Linked DNA regions of Homo sapiens: region 2 is linked to region 1. The links are contacts of gene promoters, found by promoter capture Hi-C in blood cells and fetal thymus (Javierre and others, 2016). All regions are on one chromosome and are shown on one strand. Each heading gives the region's core, a stretch centred on a gene start or on the middle of the fragment in contact. The rest is flanking DNA. Distances are from core to core; before and after follow the strand shown.

The links. The method cuts DNA at HindIII sites, captures the fragments that hold promoters and counts their contacts. A CHiCAGO score of 5 or more calls a contact.
Region 2: a contact is called between a fragment that was not itself captured here and the fragment with the promoter of HSPA8 in region 1, in 1 of 17 cell types (neutrophils). The highest score is 5.4, in neutrophils.

The regions. Positions count from the first base shown.
Region 1 is chr11:123,060,745-123,067,199 of GRCh38, reverse strand. It overlaps HSPA8 (heat shock protein family A (Hsp70) member 8), which reads left to right and starts at 5,064. Exons shown (of 9, transcript NM_006597.6): 1 at 5,064-5,136; 2 at 5,871-6,080; 3 at 6,402-6,455. The coding sequence starts at 5,876. LOC124902775 (a long non-coding RNA gene) reads right to left here and starts at 4,538. Exons shown (of 2, transcript XR_007062927.1): 1 at 3,669-4,538. RefSeq lists enhancers at 4,316-4,585, 5,146-5,315 and a silencer at 4,606-4,995. The HindIII fragment of the contact is 24,952 bases long and covers 1-6,455 here.
Region 2 is chr11:122,661,631-122,667,991 of GRCh38, reverse strand. The region is part of intron 1 of UBASH3B (ubiquitin associated and SH3 domain containing B); the gene reads right to left. Among named protein-coding and RNA genes, the nearest start is that of UBASH3B, 9.1 kb to the right of the region's middle. The HindIII fragment of the contact is 7,294 bases long and covers 1,081-6,361 here.

The DNA of each region.
Region 1 (6,455 bases), core at 3,815-6,314:
AGAAACCCCATCCCTACTAAAAATAGAAAAAATTAGCTGGGCATGGTAGCACATGCCTGTAATCCCAGCTACTTGGGAGGCTGAGGCAGGAGAATTGCTTAAACCTGGGAGGCGGAGGTTGCAGTGAGCTGAGATTGCGCCATCGCACTCCAGCCTGGGCGACAAAAGTGAAACTCCATCTCAAAAAATAAATAAATAAATAAATAAATAAATATTAAAAATTAAGCTGCTCTGAAAAAAATTTTAAATTAAAATAGGCGGGGCGCAGTGGCTCACGCCTGAGTCCCAGCACTTTGGGAGGCCGAGGCGGGTGGATCATGAGGTCAGGAGTTCGAGACCAGACTGACCAACATGGCGAAAACCCCTCTCTACTAAAAATGCTAAAAAAATTAGCCGGGCATGGTGGTGTGCGCCTGTAATCCCATCTACTCAGGAGGCTGAGGCAGGAGAACTGCTTGAACCCAGGAGGGGGAGGCTGCAGTGAGCTGAGATTGCACCATTGCACTCCAGACTGGGTGACAGTGAGACTCCATCTCAGATTAAAAAAAAAAAATTAAAATAATAAGGAGCACCTTTTTTTTCTTTAAGAGACAGGTTCTCACTCTGTCGCCCAGGCTGGAGCTCAGTGGCACAATCACGGCTCACTGCAGCCTCAACCTCCCAGGCTCAAACCATCTTCCCACCTCAGCCTCCCGAGTACCTGGGACTACAGGCACATGCCAACACGCCCAGCTAATTTTTGTATTTTTTGTAGAGATGGGGTCTCCTTATGTTGCCCAGGCTGGCCTTGAACTCCTGGGCTCAAGCCATCTACCAGCTTTGGCCTCCCAAAATGCTGGGATTACAGTGCCTGGCCAAGAGCGCATTTTATACCGCACCTCCTCTCCATAGTGCAGGGGCTAAACAAGATGACTAAGAGTTTGAAAGTAGAAAGCAACCTAGCCTGAGTTAGAAGCATAAGCTGTAGAATAAAATCTGATTTTGAAAAATTCAGGGTCAGCTAGAGATCTTAAGCAAATTATTTGACCTATTTGAACCTCAATTTCTTTACCTGAAAATGCGGACAATATGATCTGCCAAAAATAGTTGTGAGGGTCATGTAAGAGAATATATGTCAAATGCTTAGCATGGTGCCCTGCATAAAGCACTGAATAAAACATCAATGGCAAGGGCTCTACTACCAGAAATACAATAGGCATGAGAATGTTCTAAAGCGTATAATCTGGTTTAGGAAGGTAAAGCATAATGCAGGAAAAAGATATTGGGGCTATGTTTATGTATGCTGTTCTCCAGTTGCAATAATTTATACATGGCTGCAGTTAGAAATCAAAATATTAATAACAGCTTACATCATTCTGGTTTCAAATTTCCCTGATGCAATGCAGTACATACACTCCAGTATTTGGGCAATCAGGGCATACATATATTGCATCTTTTAGTCATGTCACCGGGTCACAGGAGGATTGTTTTTAATATCTGAGTTTTTAAAGCAAGGGACTGTAAGTTTACTATTCTTTAATACTAATTTTTTAAAAATGCATACTTAGTAACAGTACACCACATAATCCTAACACAAATTATCCAATTAAATTCTAAACCTTAAATTTTTTTCATTTTTTTTTGTTTTTTGAGACAGGGTTTTGCTCCGTCACTCAGGCTGGAGTGCAGGGGCACAACCATGGCTCACTGCATTCTCCACCTCTTGAGCTCAAGCGATCCTCCCATCTCATTTTTTCAGAGATGGGGGTCTCACTATTTTGCCTAGGCTGGTTGAGACTTTTCAACAGAAGCAACTGATACCACAAAACTATTAAATAATTTCTTCATAAACTGAGGCCAGCACGGCGGCTCACTCCTGTAATCCCAGCACTTTGGGAGGCCGAGGTGGGAAGATTACTTGAGGCCTGAGACCAGTCTGACCAACATGGTGAAACCCCGTCCCTACTAAAAATAACAAAAATTAGCGGGGCGTGGTGGTGGTGCGGGCCTCTAATCTCAGCTACTTGGGAGGCTGAGGCAGGAGAATTGCTTGAACCCAGGAGGCGGAGGTTGCAGTGAGCCAAGATCACAGCACTGCACTCCAGCCTGGATGACAGTTATAGACTCCACATAAAAAAAAAAAACAAAAAAAACAGGCCAGGCGTGGTAGCTCATGCCTGTAATCCCAGCACTTTGGGAGGCCGAGGCAGGCGGATTACCTGAGGACAGGAGTTTGAGACCAGCCTGGCCAATATGGTGAAACCCCGTCTACTAAAATAGAAAAATTAGCCGGGCGTGGTGGCATGCACCTGTAGTCTCAGCTACTCGCGAGGCTGAGGCAGGGGAATCACTTGAACCTGGGAGGCGGAGGTCGCAGTGAGCCAAGTTCCTGCCACTGCACTCCAGCCTGGGGGACAGAGCGAGACTCCATCTTTTCTGGGAGACTCCATTGGGAGACTGTCTTTTTTGGGAGACGGAGTCGTGCCTTAGTTTCCCCATTTACAAAATGACGATCATAATAGTTGCTACCGCTTAGATTTACGGTGAGAATTAAATGAGGTTAAGGCTGGCATGTGGTAGGCACACAAAAATGTTAAATCATTATCCTTTTATCCAGTCAGAAGTCCTAGGCTCTAGGCTCCACTGCAGTCCCATGCAACCAAACTTTAATTTTAGATCTTAACTGTGTCATTTGAAACCCTGTGCGTTTGAAGTGGTGGAGACAGGACCTTTATCATATTCTGAGCTTTAAATATATAAACGGTAAATCATTCCATTTAATAAGACATAGCCCAAGTCCCAGAACGCGTTTTGAGAGTAACCAGAAACAGAGGTTATTTGTTCTGCTTTCTTTTATCACTGCTATTGGATGGGATATCCCAAACAAGTGGATGTGCGCCCCAATTCTATTTTCCACTATTCAATGATTAAAATAATTACAAAAACGCAAAATACAGCACAGGGTGTAGTTTAAAATTTGTGCTTGTTAAACTCTAGGCACTGGGGTGTGAAAAGAAAGATTCCAGATAACATTACTAGCAGTTAGCGTGGGGGACTGGGGGTTCCAAATACCAAAGGAAACTGAAAACAGTGGCTCACAGTACATATCTTAACTCTTTCTGGAGTTGAGTTCAATTTATTTCCAGGAAGGAAATTACACTGTAGCGTAACTAACAAAAAACATAAAACAAATCTTGAACCAAAAAAAAGCTAGATTTGATTCTAGCTTACCCAGCTGCTTATCTTCCCACAAATGATTATCTCTGAGCTGCATTTTTCCCCTGATATGGGGATGAATAATACACACCTTAGAGAATTGTGTTGATGATTAAATGACAAATGAAAGCATTTTGTATGTAGTGAAAGCATTGTATAAAATTAAATTCTTGGGACGTGGGAGAGGCTAAGAATATATCTCCATGAACTCTAAGCCAACATTCCTCCCCAAAAGGAAAATATGAAAAGGAAATTCTTCATATGTTTGAGTCTGTCTCTACCCTTTACTGGCTTTGACAAGGACAAGATGTCCTCGCTCTTCTGACAGCCTTTTTCGCAGTCTAGAGACCTTCTAATTCCAGCCCTGCTACTAAAAGTTCTTTTGGTGTAGCCTTAAAAAATCTTTTCCCCCATCGGTGCCTATTTATCTACTAAATAGGAATAACAGCTACCTCGCCTGCTTGAAAGGATACAGGGAGTGTTCAAGGTACCTGAGACAGGCTCTTGGAACCACAAGGCCCCACATATCCGCGGCCATGCACAACATTGCACAATTCAAAATTCTAGGCACCATTGTTTTGTGCACCAGCTCAGTCACGTTTTCAAAGCGTCGGTATGGTCTGTCGTTTAATTTTTGATGAAAGTCAAACCAGGAAAGATATCACCTCATGTTACTGAAAATACAAACGTTCAGAAAGTCTAAATCAAGGACGCACGGCTACTGGAACCTATGATTCCTAATGCCTGGTTCACCTAACCAAGAACACACTCGCCACCATTTAAACCTGTTTATTTTATAAACAACGGGGAAATGTAGGGCTTGGGCTAGTTGGGGAAGGACTGAGCCAAGAAGCCGAATCTGTTCTAGACGGAGGTGGGAAGGGGCCTAACGGTCAGGGCTCAGAGAAGCGGTTTCGCCTTCTTTTCCGCGGAGGGATCCAGACACGACCGCGTCCTGAGGCGGTTCTGAAAAGCCGGGCCCCTTAAACCTCTGCGTCGGGGGCTGCCTCCCGACAGTTGCCGTAGGGAAATGCAGGTGCTGGGAGGCCTGCCGAGCTAACCCGCCCCACCCCGCGGCGGCCTGGCGGCTCCCTCCAATCCCAATCCTGGGGGGCCGTGAGCGAGCAGCCCTAGTGGCACCCTGAAGCCGGAACCTTCGCCCCAGCCCCTCGGGGTCAGCCCTTGTCCAAAGCCACGCTATGAAATACAGATTCGCGAAACCCGGGGCACTTAGAGGCCCGTCTGGAACACGAAGGTGGGGCATGGAAAGGAGGATTCGGACGTGGGTGGGGGAGGGGAGCAACAACCTTCGCAGCCATTTTGTCCTCGCTCCACTTCCGTCTTCTCCTGCCCGGCTCCCGCGCCCAAACCCCTCCCTTCAGGCCCCGCGCGATTCCGCCCCCAGTTCTGTGCCGGCCAAGATCCCGGCTAGCGCCGCTATCATTGGTTAGTTCCAAGTTTGCCCGCCCCTCTTCCTCCTCCTTTTTCCGCCCCCTCCCTCCCGCGGAAGCTGGGGGCGCATGCGTAGAGGTGGACGCTCCCCTCCCCCGCCCGGGGTAACTGAGGACTCCCGCGCGCGGACTCGCTGCGCCCCACCCTCCCTTTCCCCGGGGCCGTCCGGAGAGCGGGGGCGAGCTTGAAAGTTCCAGAACGCTGCGGTGAGTGCGTTATCGTGAGGCGGAGCGCGGTGGGGTGGGTGCGGAAGGGGGCGAGGCCCGAGGAGTGGAGCCGGGCTTGTGATTGGGTCTTGTAAGGGCAGCCGGGCGTCTATTGGCCGGGGAAGCCGTAATGGCAGGCAGCAGGGGCGGGCCCCTTCTGGAAGGTTCTAAGATAGGGTATAAGAGGCAGGGTGGCGGGCGGAAACCGGTCTCATTGAACTCGCCTGCAGCTCTTGGGTTTTTTGTGGCTTCCTTCGTTATTGGAGCCAGGCCTACACCCCAGGTAAAACCTCTGCTCAAGAGTTGGGTTGTGGGTCTGGGAGCGTGCAGCCTCCACACAGGCCTGTTGGGCTTGCTGAGGCTTGGGGGTTCTGAGAATCTCGTCGAGGCGAGTGTGCGGCTCCTTCTACCGGCTTAAAGGGCCTCAGTTTTCGGTGGGATGGCAGCGGTATTTGGTTGCAGCCGGCAGGACGGAAATGTAGGGAGTGGGCCGCAGTGGCCCCAGGGGAGGCTGGGAGACGCCCGGCGGCCGCGTGGCGGGGGAGGGTTGCTGCATCGGTTTGCCTGGCGCGCGGGGAAGTGGAGCCAGCGTTTTCTTTCACCCAGTTCCCTGCTTAGTCCAGTCCCACCGTGGTTCTTCAGAGCTGTTCTTGGCGTGCTTCCAGTATGGGGGTACATTCCGGAGTAGTTAAAAGCCCGTTGACTCCCGGGGGCACTGGCACCTGGCGAGGGAGGGGAACAGACAGTGCTCAGTTCGGGGTAAGACCACGTGTTGAGCAACGCCCCACGCCGTCTGGGTAGATGGGTCCTTCATCTAGGGCGTGCTCTGCTGCGGTTGGCACGGCAACCTGGACTGCAGCACTAGTTCTGGACCTCGCGCGTGCTTAGACAGGAGGTGATGGGCACTATTACCTCTTGGCAGTGGCCATACGTTTTTCCTGGTTAAGTGTTCTGTTAAGGGATGAGGGAAATATTTTGATTAATTGAATTTTTAAACCAGATTTTTCTTTTTTTCAGCAACCATGTCCAAGGGACCTGCAGTTGGTATTGATCTTGGCACCACCTACTCTTGTGTGGGTGTTTTCCAGCACGGAAAAGTCGAGATAATTGCCAATGATCAGGGAAACCGAACCACTCCAAGCTATGTCGCCTTTACGGACACTGAACGGTTGATCGGTGATGCCGCAAAGAATCAAGTTGCAATGAACCCCACCAACACAGTTTTTGGTGAGTTCCTAATTTTAAATGACAGAACAAATATAACAGGGCTAGGAAGCACAAAAGTTTATGAAACGTGAGGAGGGAACTTTTTGATTTTAGAAAAACTGAGCTGAGAGACTTGTTATCAAGTCTGTTATAAAACAGGTTGTAGAAACCTTTCAGGCTGAAATCTGGATAACGTAGGAGGTTGAAGTTTGAACCTTTGCTACCTATATGGTAGTTGAATTCACCTACCTATGAACTGTTAGGTATTTGAGTAATCATGGACTTGAGTTTTATCAGAAGAGCTATGAAATTGAAAGTGTTTTCATTTGACACCTTTTACAGATGCCAAACGTCTGATTGGACGCAGATTTGATGATGCTGTTGTCCAGTCTGATA
Region 2 (6,361 bases), core at 3,478-5,977, 400 kb after region 1:
CAAAAGAAAGCTGTCTCTAGGTGCCTGGACTCAGAGAAGTAGCCTGATATGGAAAAAAGAAACCATGGTCTCAACTGAGATCAGCAGGCCTAAGCTCTGGTTTCTATCACAGACTAGCCGTGTGGGATCTTGAAAATATCACTTCATTTTCTGGTCTCATTTTACTTAAGTGTAAAGAAAAAGGGTACTAGACTAGATGAGCCCTACTAGCAATTCCAGCTACAGATTTCTGAGCGTCTACCTCTGGAGGTTTCTTCCAAGCAGGATCTTACACCTGAGGCATAATATTAAATTATTTGAACTGTCTACTGGCCTTCCCAGAATTTTTCCTCTCCTCTCAAACTGAAGAGTATTGCTCCTGTCTTATTGGTGCTTCAGATGTAATCGTGTGCTCCCTGTCTGGTTTATGACCCTCACCCTCCCACACTGATGTGTCTTCCATCTTCTGTCTCTTGCCTCGCATTTACCACGCTTTATCATAATCGTGTATCTTCCACCCTAGATTGCCAGTTTCCTGAGGGTGGAGATTATAGCTAATTATCTTTATACTCTCAACTCCTGTTATAATAGGATATTATAGTTGCACATAAATGTGTGAAGTGTCTGTACAGTATATACATACATATACAGAGAGAGAGAAAGAATGGACTGGGCGCGGCGGCTCACATCTGTAATCCCAACACTTTGGGAGGCTGAGGCGGGTGATCACCTGAGGTCAGGAGTTTGAGACCAGCCTGGCCAACATGGCAAAACCCCGTCTCTACTACAAATACAAAAATTAGCCAGGTGTGGTGGTGGTGCGTGCCTGTAATCCCAGCTACTTAGGAAGCTGAGGCAGGAGAATCGCTTGAACCCAGGAGGCAAAGGTTGCAGTGAGCTGAGATCACAACATTGCACTCCAGCCTGGGTGACATAGTGAGACTCTTTCTCAAAAAAAAAAAAAAAAAAAAAAAAGAATGCCATTATCAGGGGATTTGTCATGGAGAAAGTGGCTGAGGACCCTGGGCAGATCACTGTGCATCTTCATAGGTGATTTGGGGTAATCCCCTTAGTCTGGCTTGCTTCACAGGGTGTGAAGCTTAATAAGACTTGTGGCAGAAGAGATGAGGAGAGTGAGAGAGGAGGGGAAGAGAAAGTGAAAAGAAGGGAAGAGGAGCCAGATGCATTACAGTGGAACTAGTTCTCCAGGATGGGTAAAATCTGATTAGGAAAAAAGAGGGGAAAAAAATGAGCAATCAGGCAATTCAAGGAAAAGTTGATTCAAAATGAAACTGCAGCTGGGCGCGGTGGCTCATGCCTGTAATCCCAGCACTTTGGGAGGCCGAGGCGGGTGGATCACAAGGTCAGGAGATCGAGACCAGCCTGGCAAACATGGTGAAACCCCGTCTCTACTAAAAATACAAAAATCAGCTGAGCATGGAGGCGCGCGCCTGTAATCCCAGCTACTCAGGAGGCTGAGGCAGGAGAATTGTTTGAACCCGGGAGGCAGAGGTTGCAGTGAGCCGAGATCGTGCCATTGCACTCCAGCCTGGGTGACAGGGCGAGACTCCGTCTCAAAACGAAAAACAAAACAAAAAACAAAAGAAAAAAAAAACAAAAACGAAACTGCAGATGCCATGGTTGAGAACTCCAGCGACCCTGCATCGTTCCACATGTCTGTGTCTAAATAGACTGTACACAAAAGCAGCCATGAGGCAGATTTCTTCCTAAGGTAAAGGAATAAACACTTAGGGAGCGAACGCTCTCTGTAAATGTTTTTGAAAGGCGCACCATCAACGTGGAAGCAGGATTCTAAACAATCCTGCTACCTGAATCACCAAGAAGGTTCACCCAACAAAACCTGAAAGAAATCGGGAGCATGCAGCTGCCTCTGGCCATCTGTGCAGTCGGCTTCCCCCTGGCATTTTCCAGACTGCCATGAGAGGCTACAGCGGTGGTTCTTTCAGCTTCCCACTCTGCACGAGAACAGCCTTGGTCCTGGTGGAGTTCACTGCCACAGTTGCTTTATGTACAAGAATGTTTATGCTTCCACAGAGGCCGGGAGCACAACGGGAAGTGTCACCCAAACAGCTGGTGACTCCACAGAAGGGAAGATGTCCCTTTAATTTAAAAGGTGCCCCTGAGCAATCTATTTGCCTCAGGTGCTGGGCTCAAGGCACTACCTTCCTCTTATTTAACCAGCACTTTGGTTGTATTTTGCAAGAAAACAAATTGTTTGTTTTTGTTTTGTACCAATTTGAGAATTATACTATTGCATACTAGTAAACGGCTCCCCACCACTGTAATTGCCTCATATCTTTCTTCCTTTCCGTTTATTTACTCTCTAAAATATCAAGTCCTGAAGAGTTTTCTTTAAAGGGAGAGGAGAAGAATTTGACCATAAAGCACTGTGAAAAACAAAACAAAAACAGGAACAGAAAAGCCAAATGCTCTGGAACAGAGAAGCACACCCATGAAGCAGTGAGAGCATCCTCGTGCTGTCCAAAAACACTGGTCCAGGCTGGGCGCAGGGGCTCATGCCTGTAATCCCAGCACTTGTGGGAGGCTGAGGCGAACGGATCACTTGAGCCCAGGAGTTTGAGACAAGCCTGGGCAATGTAGTGAGACCCCCATCTCTACAAAAATAAAAATAAAATAAATTTTAAAATTATCCAGGTGTGGTGGGGCACACCTGTAGTTCTCACTGTTCAGAAGGCTGAGGCAGGAGGATTACTGGAGCCCAAGTGTTCGAGGCTGCAATGAGCTAGGATCGTGTTATTGCACTGTAGCCTGGGAGACAGAGTGAAACACACACGAGCCGGGCGCAGTGGCTCACACCTGTAATCCCAGCAGGCCTCAAAAAGGCAGGCCTAGGTCAGGAGATGGAGACCATCCTGGCTAACACGGTGAAACCCCGTCTCTACTAAAAATACAAAAAAATTAGCTGGTATTGGCGGGCGCCTGTAGTCCCAGCTACTTGGGAGGCTGAGGCAGGAGAATGAAGTGAACCCGGGGGGCGGAGCTTGCAGTGAGCTGAGATTGCGCCACCGCACTCCAGCCTGGGCGACAGAGCGAGACTCCGTCTCAAAAAAAAGGCAGGCCTGCCCTCCGAGGGTCACTGTGGAGAACGTGCAGCCAGCTCAAAAGAGCAGTTGACTTCAGAGTGCCAGATGGGAAAAACCTGACATTTACCTTTTCCTCCGGAGAACTGCACAGAATTTAGCAGGGTGCTGCATGCACAGTAAGAGCTCAGACAGTTTCTGGATGTTCATCTAGGACACTTCACCATGGGCCTCACCGTCATAGATAGTAAGTGGCAAAGAGCATGACTGCAAAGTCACCAGGAAAACAGGGATGTGAGCAAGATGAAACAAGAAAAGGGATCACCTATCACATACCGAGGGCCCCGGGCAGAGGGTCCAGAGGACTGCGATCACTGCCACATCTACCCACCCATCCTCCAGGGAAAAGAGAAAAACCACAGATTCTCCATAAGCCTTTGGGCAAATAGAAAGTGGCCCCTGGGAGAATCCATCCATGAAAATGACAAAAGTGTTCAGTTCAATGAGGATCATAGTCATCTCATTCTTCTGGCAATGGCTCTGCATTCTGCTTGGCTGAGTCTGTCACCCTGCAGAGAGGATCCATTCTTGAGTGTGGTTTTTTCTCCCCACTCTCTCTCTTAGGCTTGAGTCTGATTCCATTTGAAAGTAATCAGAAGACAACCATATGGTACCCCTTCCAGTCCCCAGCCCCTGCCATTTATTATAGTCAGCAGCTTGGGTGGTGCTCTCTCTGCCCTGGGTCTGCTTTTTCTCAGGCCCCGCACCCCTCTGGGCACTCTAGAGAGAGAAGCACAGAGAGCAGAATGCAGTTATCAGGGAGAAAGCATCCACTGGCCTCTGCCCTATCTTACAGCCTTATACCCAAAGCTCAGTGAGGAACAGAGAACCATAAAAGTGGAAGGCGACCAAGGAACCAAACCACAGAGGGAGCCATGTGGAGTAACATCACCACTTGAGTAGCACTAATACCGACCTCATTTCTGAGGGTGTGCCCAATGCCAGGCGCTCTCCAGCTGTTTGCGTGGTTTGGCACCCTTCTCTCACAAAGGTCCTTCAAGACAAGTGCTGTTATTGTCTGCATTGTACAGACAGGAAAATTGAGGCTTAGCATGTTCAGCAACTTGCCCAAGGTCAGTCCCTCAGCTGGTAAGAGGCAGAGCTGGAATTCAAAGCCAGGCTGCCACAAGTTCAGACTTCTGTCTATCAGGGCAGGATGGATGGGGCAGATAATGATGGGGTCTCTTCAGCTTCTGGATGGCCAAGAAAGGAGATACCCTTACACAGGCTTATGCCGGCTGGGATTGGGGAGGCAGTGATAGTACCACCACATCATCATCAGCTGGAGCAAAGCTGGCGGGAGACACAGGATTCCCTAGGTTGGCTGCCTCTCTGAAAAGCAACGCCTTTAGCTCTGCGAATGACTGTCCACTCCCTGAAAGGGAGCTGGACTTTGAGGCAGCTGAGGGTGGGGAGCAGGTGGTGATCAAAGCCACAGGATAGAACAGTGAGGCAGGATACTCTTCAATCTCTGTAGTACTTAATCTTCCAAACCTCAGTTTCCTCATTAAATTATCAATGTCTGAGACTTAATAGTGATTATGTATGTGACTCTGCTTTGTAAGCTCGAACATGGTCTAAAAACTTAAGGTATTATTAGAAATTCTGGCGTAAGGCCAGGCGCGGTGGCTTATGCCTGTAATCCCAGCACTTTGGGAGACCAAAGCAGGCGGATTGCCTGAGCTCAGGAATTCGAGACTAGCCTGGGCAACATGGTGAAATCATGTCTCTATTAAAATACAAAAAATTAGCTGGGCATGGCGGCATGTGCCTGTAGTCCCAGTAACTCAGGAGGCTGAGGCAGGAGAATTGCTTGAACACGGGAGGCGGAGGTTGCAGTGAGCCGGGATTGTGCCACTGCACTCCAGCCTGGGAAACAGAGCGAGACTCCATCTCAAAAAAAAAAAAAAAAAAAAAAGACATTAGCGCGTAAGAGGGAATTTTCATAGAAGCTGTGTGCAAGGGGTTATAATTACCCTACTAGCACATCCAAATACCTGAAGGTCTACTCAGCAATTAAAAGAGATAAACTATTGATACATGCAGGATGAGTCTAAAAAATATGCTGAAGGAAAGAAGCCAAGTACAAGGGTATGCACTGTATGACCTACATGCAAATCTAGGAAATGCAAACTAATGTACAGTGAAAGAAAGCAACTGGGCTGGGCGTGGTGTCTCATGCCTGTAATCCCAGCACTTTGGGAGGCCGAGGCGGGCGGATCACCTGAGGTCAGGAGTTCGAGACCAGCCTGACCAACATGGAGAAACCCTGTCTCAACTAAAAATACAAAATTAGCCAGGCGTGATGGTGCATGCCTGTAATCCCAGCTACTTGGGAGGCTGAGGCAGGAGAATCACTTGAACCTGGGAGGCGGAGGTTGCATGCAGTGAGCTGAGATCGCAGCATTGCACTCCTGCCTGGGCAACAAGAGTGAAACTGTCTCAAAAAAAAAAAAAAGAAAAGAAAAGAAAAAGCGACTGGTGGCTGCTCAGGGTTGGGGGTTGAGAGAGGACTAACCACAAAGGGGTACAAACGAAACTTTTAGGGGCAGTGAACGTACTGTGTCTTGTAGCAGGTAATCACACAGGTACAGTTGTCAAAATGTATCAATCTTTAAATAGGGTTAGCTGATTGTACATGAGTTATAACTCAAAAAAGTTTTTTTAAAAAAAGCACATCGGCTGGCCGGGCAGGGTGGCTCCCACCTGTAATCCCAGCACTTTGGGAGGCCAAGGCGGGATGATCACTTGAGGTCAGGAGTTCGAGACCAGCCTGACCAACATGATAAAACTCTGTCCCTACTAAAAATACAAAATTAGCTGGGCATGATGGCACATACCTGTAGTCCTAGCTACTTGGGAGGCTAAGGCAGGAGAATCACTTGACACCTAGGAGGCAGAGGTTGCAGTGAGCTGAGATCACGCCATTGCACTCCAGCTTGGGCAACAAGAACGAAACTCTGTCTCAAAAAAAAAAAAAAAAAGAAAAAAAGCATATCAAGGTATTTTTTTTTTTGTTTTTTTTTTTTTTGGAACCAGGACCTCGTGTAGCCTGGAAAGTTCAGGAGACTTGCAGTTTAGCCTGAGGCTCTTATGGCAATGCAGTCCCTGCATACCAACTGTGTGACTCTAGACACGTCCTGAACTCCTCTAAGCCTCCAGTCTCATCTTAAAACAAAGCATATGTTGTGTGCTTTACCTCACAAGACTGCTGTGGGGTATCTAATACACATAAGAGCAATTTTTACAGTGTATAATAA